2 separate regions of the Homo sapiens genome follow, and region 1 is linked to region 2. Evidence: promoter capture Hi-C in human tissues and cell types (Jung and others, 2019). All regions are on one chromosome and are shown on one strand. The core of a region is centred on a gene start or on the middle of the fragment in contact, and the rest is flanking DNA. Distances in the headings are between cores, read along the strand shown. Region 1 holds the start of C5orf15 (chromosome 5 open reading frame 15). Region 2 holds the start of GDF9 (growth differentiation factor 9).

Evidence for each region. Contacts are between HindIII fragments. The study calls those that stand out against the background at their distance.
Region 1: a contact is called between the fragment with the promoter of C5orf15 here and the fragment with the promoter of GDF9 in region 2, in 1 of the 25 tissues and cell types used here (hippocampus).

The regions. Positions count from the first base shown.
Region 1 is chr5:133,967,067-133,970,019 of GRCh38, forward strand. It overlaps C5orf15 (chromosome 5 open reading frame 15), which reads right to left and starts at 1,559. Exons shown (of 3, transcript NM_020199.3): 1 at 1,380-1,559. The coding sequence starts at 1,518. It overlaps LOC105379183 (a long non-coding RNA gene), which reads left to right and starts at 1,623. Exons shown (of 2, transcript NR_134247.1): 1 at 1,623-1,726; 2 at 2,685-2,953. RefSeq lists enhancers at 753-852, 1,483-1,702. The HindIII fragment of the contact is 9,621 bases long and covers 1-2,673 here.
Region 2 is chr5:132,864,774-132,867,780 of GRCh38, forward strand. It overlaps GDF9 (growth differentiation factor 9), which reads right to left and starts at 1,696. Exons shown (of 2, transcript NM_005260.7): 1 at 1-1,696. UQCRQ (ubiquinol-cytochrome c reductase complex III subunit VII) reads left to right here and starts at 1,869. Exons shown (of 3, transcript NM_014402.5): 1 at 1,869-1,914; 2 at 2,096-2,262; 3 at 2,715-3,007. The coding sequence starts at 2,109. The coding sequence ends at 2,809. RefSeq lists enhancers at 1,148-2,347, 1,206-1,706, 1,707-2,207. The HindIII fragment of the contact is 5,371 bases long and covers 1-3,007 here.

The sequences.
Region 1 (2,953 bases), core at 309-2,808, 1.1 Mb after region 2:
ATCCCTTAAGCATTCCAGCAGGAAATATAAATGTTTGTGTTTTATTTTTCTTAGATGATTAAATGGCCAAAACAATTAAGCTACTTAAGTACTTTAGGAACGGGAATATCTGCATCAACCAGGGAAATCCTCATTACATTTCACTAATGATAAAAGGGCCTTAGGAAATGGACAGCAGTCCTTCCTCAGGGACTGCAAAGACTTCTGGGAGGGCGTCCAGTTAGCAACACTGAAATGTTGCTGAGGAAACATAAGTATGTACCCACAGTACTGTCGCAGAGGAATGTAGGGCTGGACAGGCCCTGCTGGCAAGAAAGAAAACACTATACCAGGTCACACTGTTTTGCAGCTGAAAATTCAAATTTAGGGAGAAACGCAGGACTGTGTCTTGGCCTGAAAGAAAAATGGGACTACTAAACAAAATACCGTTTAATCCTTACAAGTTCTTAATAGTGGATTTTTCCCACCAAGTATCAGGCACTGGTTTACAGATTTCCTAATTTCTCAATAAAAGCCTTCAATCTCTTGATTTCACCATGCAACATTTGCAAGAAATGAAATATTTTATCAATCAAATCCTACAGATGCATTAAAACGAGGCAGGGTTATCCTGGTTAACTCGGAACACAGGGAAGAGGAATCATGATCTCCCTTGTCTCCAAACTCCTCTCTGCCTCCCAAGCCTTCAGGGGCCCAACGCCCCAGTACTCTGAATCTTTATCAAACACCAGAACCTCCCAGTCTTCAAATATGCACCAGTACCCTAAGACAGCTCTTTCCCTTTCACTTTCCCTCTCGGAAATATTCCATTGGTTCAGTCCAGTCACTGGATTACTGCCCCTGCCCGCCTCGGTCTTTACCACTGACCTCTCCCATTCTGGAAAACCCCCACCTTTCCTTGGTCCTGCAAGATTCCTGAGTCCCCCAAACTCAGGACCCTTTCCAGACACCACACCCCCAGCCCCGGCCACCTCCTCAGCCCCTGTCGCCACCCTCTCTTCCAGAGTCTCCTAACTTTCCGATCCAAGAAATTTTGGAGACCCCACCACCGCCATTCCTTGCGGCAGCCCATTCTTCAACGATCTCTAGGCGCTAACACCACTCCTCCCTCCCCGCCCATCTACACACCCTGCTGCCTGCTCCCTGGGTTCCTGCATCTCTCAGGGACCCCGCTTCTCAGGCCCCTTGGAGACCCTACCACCTTGGACCCCTTCAGACACCATACCCTCCGTCCTCAGGCCCGCGGAGACCCTGACCCAACCAGACACCGCCGTCTGCTCCTGACACTTGGAAGCGCCCTTTCCCTGGCCCGGCCTGTCTCCTGCCCTGCGCCCGAGCCCTCCTAGCCTTCCTAAGCCCACACTGCCGCCCCCCTTTACCACTGGATAGAGCGGCGGACACAAGCAGGAGCGCCAAGACCAGCGGCCGCGCCAACCCCACAAGGGCTTGGATGGCCGACCCGGGCAGCAGTTTCGCTTGTGCTGGCCCCCTCATCCTCTTCGGGACGGCAGCGGCCATAACGGACTCGGCTGGGAGCCTGCGCTGTTGCTAGGCTCTACGCCATGAGGTCAGACGCCGCGGCCCTCGGCACATACGTCCCAGCGTGGTGACGTCGAAGCCTGGAGACGTGCTCTGGAAACCGGAATAAGAAGGAAGGATTGCAGGGAGGAGGGAGTTGCCGCTAGGCGAAAGTGGGGACCGCCACACAGTTGGCTGCGGATTAAAGGTAGGGTGTGACGTGCTGAAGAGGGCCAAAGCGAGCCCCTCCCTGCCGCCTGCATGATTGGGTACTATACAGCCAAAAATAGCGTTTTTAGCCATTTTAAAAAGGAAGATCCAGCTGTAGAACAGACTGATCACGAAAGCGAAGTAACTGCTCTTCCTCTCTCAAAGGCGAAAGAAACACAAATGTTAAGTAGTCCTATTTCGGTGATGGGATTATAAGTAATTTTTAAAAATCTTTCCCGACAGTCATTTATTTTTTTTCAACAAAGATTTAGCACCTCTCCCTATTTAAGATACAGCAGTGAACAAAAAGAACCCCCCACCCCCCCGCCCGCCTTGGCAGTTTATTTTCTTGTGAGGGCGAATATGGTGTAAAATACACACTATACAAGATGATAAAGATATTATGGACCGGCCCTAGTGCAGTGGCTCCCAGCACTTTGGGAGGCCGAGGAGGGCAGATCACCTGAGGTCCGGAGTTGGAGACCAGCCTGGCCAACATGGAGAAACCCCGACTCTACTAAAAATACAAAAATTAGCCAGGCGTGGTGGCGCGTGCCTGTAATCGCAGCTACTCGGGAGGCTGAGGTAGGAGAATCGCTGTAACCCGGGAGGTGGAGGCTGCAGGGAGCCGAGATGCCACTGCACTCTAGCCTGGGCCACAGACTCCGTCTCAAAAAAAAAAAAAAAATTATGGAGGAAAAGAAAGGAAGGTAGCTAGGAAGTAGAGGTGAGGGGCTGCCATTGAAAATAACTTTCAGATTTCCTAAAATAAGCTTCTCTTTTTAAATTTTGTTACTTGAAATCCCCAGTGTATAAAAATGCAAACTTACAAACTTCCAAGAAGTTCACCTAGGGCCCTGGCGCCATACTTTGCTCTGTGTGTACGTTCTGTAAATGTCTCCTTAATAAACAGATACAGGCTTCAATTCATAAAAGTTCCATTTGATCAATTTCAGGAAAATCAATGTGACGTTAAGCAAGACATTTATTGTGCCCACAGCTTCACCATTCTGGTCTCTATGATTCCCTGCGAAGATTGCTGTTATCCCCCAGAGACACAGCTGAGCTGTCTCTCTAAAGGGCCTGTGTTCTACTCCTGAATCTGGTTTCCCCTAAGCTTTTATCTCACCCTGGTGACAGCTCAGAAACACACAAACTCTGTGTTAAGAAAACTAAGAAGTCATTCATCTGCACATTTCCCGAAATCCCCCAGAAGCCCGTATTA
Region 2 (3,007 bases), core at 446-2,945:
TCCTCTCTTTTCCCCTGGCATTTACGTAAAACCCGTTACTGTTACACTACCGGACTAACTATGTAGCTGAAAGTCTAAGATAAATTGAGGAATGATCTTAAATAAAATCTCTCATTTTTTGAGAAATTTGGATTAAGATGTTCGCTAGGTGCTTGCTGAAACTTCTAAGGCATGTGGAAAAGCTAACCAATTATTCATGACGATACTCAGATCTGCTGGTATGCAACTTATGGTATTAGGTTTACTCTTCCTCTCAATTTATCCTCACGGCCTTTTCCACTTCCAGGTGTTTACAATTGTAATTATTCGCTGCATGTTAATTTGCGAATTTACAAATTTGGGTGAGAAAGTCACAATTGGCATAGAAGTTCCAGAAAGCAGAAAACCATTAGGTCTCTCAGTCCTCCCAGGTGGCTGGGTACAGAATACGTACTTGGAGTACTGGAATTGTATTTGCGATGTTCTTAAAAGAGGACACCGCCTTTAACCTTGACTTATTTTTAAATGTAACATACTGATGTCCTTACTTTGGTCTGCACACTCATCTATACATATTTTGGTTGAAAGGTTTTGGGATGTTTGCAGATGCTATAAAATAAATGAACGTTTTATTATTATTCATCCAAATGGTGGTAGAATTTGCCACAATATTTCTGTCCTTACCTGTATTTCTGTTCTTGCCTTGGAGCTGAGACCAGGCTAGACATTATGGTTTAAAAAAATGAGGCAAAGGAGCACCATGAAAAGCTGAAATGAGGGGATATTCAGCGCCACCCCGAAGGAGACTATGCTGGAAGAGTCAGCCTACACTCATAGTGCAAGATACGAAGCCAGTTTGTGCAGTACCTACATGAGAAAACTAAGGTATGTCTGCAAAATACAAGTTGACTGCCTGCCGAGCCTCCGTGGTCCGTAAGTAGTGTTATAAAACACAGCCAACTGTTGAATGAGAGCTTAGTCCTAGATAAAATATGGCCAGCAATTCCATTAACAAAACACTGACAAGACACCTCAGGGCGAGCTGTACATTGACAACAGCATCGTCAAGCAGAATGCACTTCAGGGAAAACATAATAAGGCCTCTCACCCGACTTTCCTTGCTTCTCACGTGGGGAGAAGAAAGAACTGGGGCATCGTGATTCCCCCCACCCCACGCAAACCATCTGGGGAGGACGCTGGCTGCTGTCGAGGCGGCCTCAGCATTCATCAATTGACGATTATTTGATTATTTTTGTGGCTGAAACTGACGAAACGTTTGTATTATCTCTTGGGAACGTTAACAGCCTGCCAGGGGACTCTAAAACAGAGTCCAAGAGAAGCCTTCGATGTGTGTCCCTGATTTTGGTGCTGGGGTCGCTCATGGCCTGAAAATAACGAAGCCCCCTTTGAGCTACTGGCCAAGGCCAAATGAAACCTCGTGCTCCTCTGCTGTGGGGCGGCCCGGCCTCGGGGCTCAGAGGCGCTCTGTCTACAGCTGGGAAGACTCGCAGGCCCCAAGCTCCTGGCCAGCGCTGCCCCGGAGGTCGGCAGGCCCCTTCCTCGTCACCTTTTTGTTCCCTCCCCCGCCTCCCGCATTCGGCCGCTTCCTGACTGGGATTCCACAGAAAAGCCGAGGGCTGAGGAGAAGTGTGAGCGCCTCCGCCTGTCCACTGTCCCCCAAAGTCAGTTCAATCCCCGACGTCCTCCGCTAGGCTCCACCCCACCGGCCCGGGCAGGGCCTCCAAGGCACCTCCCACCTACGGGTCACCCAGTCAGCCCACTTCTTTCTGGGACAAAGGCGTCATCCCTTAGAGACAGTAGGAAAATGGTATCTCCCGGAAGTTACCTCACGACCTCCAAGAGCGGCTTCCAACCTTGCCGGAAATGACGAACGAGTCAACCGGATCGGTGACTGTGGAGGGCGAGCTGAGCCCTGTGCGTGAGTGGGGTCTGGTTGTGCAGTGTTCGTGGACCCTGGGAGGCTAGGGGCGCCCCGCTGGGCTGGGAAAGGATAAGGAGTGCAGGGGCAGGAGTCTGGGGTTGGGGATGGACCCCCGCGGGGACTGCGGCGCTTCGCGAAAGCGAGCCAAGCGCCTGTCCACCCTCGGTCCTGCAGGGCCGCCGCCACAATGGGCCGCGAGTTTGGGAATCTGACGCGGATGCGGCATGTGATCAGCTACAGCTTGTCACCGTTCGAGCAGCGCGCCTATCCGCACGTCTTCACTAAAGGAATCCCCAATGTTCTGCGCCGCATTCGGGAGTCTTTCTTTCGCGTGGTGCCGCGTGAGTGCCTTGGGCCCGCGGGAGCGGGAGGCTGGACCCCAGCAGCAGCAGCAGTCACTGCGCCTCCCCTCTGAGCGCTGGCGGCCGGGCAGGCGCTCTGTAACTTGCCGTACACACCTTTCTCATTGAATATTCCTGACCGCCCTTAAGCTGGTCATATTATCCTCCCCATCTTACACGGGGAAAACTGAGCTACAGAACTGAAATGACTGGCCCAAGGTCACTCGGGTGATTCCAGCATGTTCCTCTGAGGTCACCTTTATTTAGTTCTTACCAGTGGTGAAATGCTTTGTGTTAAACGTGCAGCAGATAGTGATGATAGTTGCATGGCCTTGGATATGCTAAGAACTACTGAAGTGTATGCTTTAAAGAAGACAAGAGGACTGAGACCTTTTTTTTTCTTCTATATGTCTTATATGTGTGCTCTCTGTTTACTCTCTTAATTTTTAAAGAGTTTGTAGTGTTTTATCTTATCTACACATGGGGGACTGAAGAGTTCGAGAGATCCAAGAGGAAGAATCCAGCTGCCTATGAAAATGACAAATGAGCAACGCATCCGGATGACGGTTCCCTGTCTCTGAAAGACCTTTCTCTGGAAGAGGAGTCTGCATTGTAGTGTCTCAAAGACACAATAAACTTCCTATGGTCTGCACTGTTGTGATATTACATTTTTGTGAGTAGAATCCTGTGTGACCACTAATATTCAAGTTCATGAAGCGCCCCTCCTCAGCATGAGTCTTGAAGT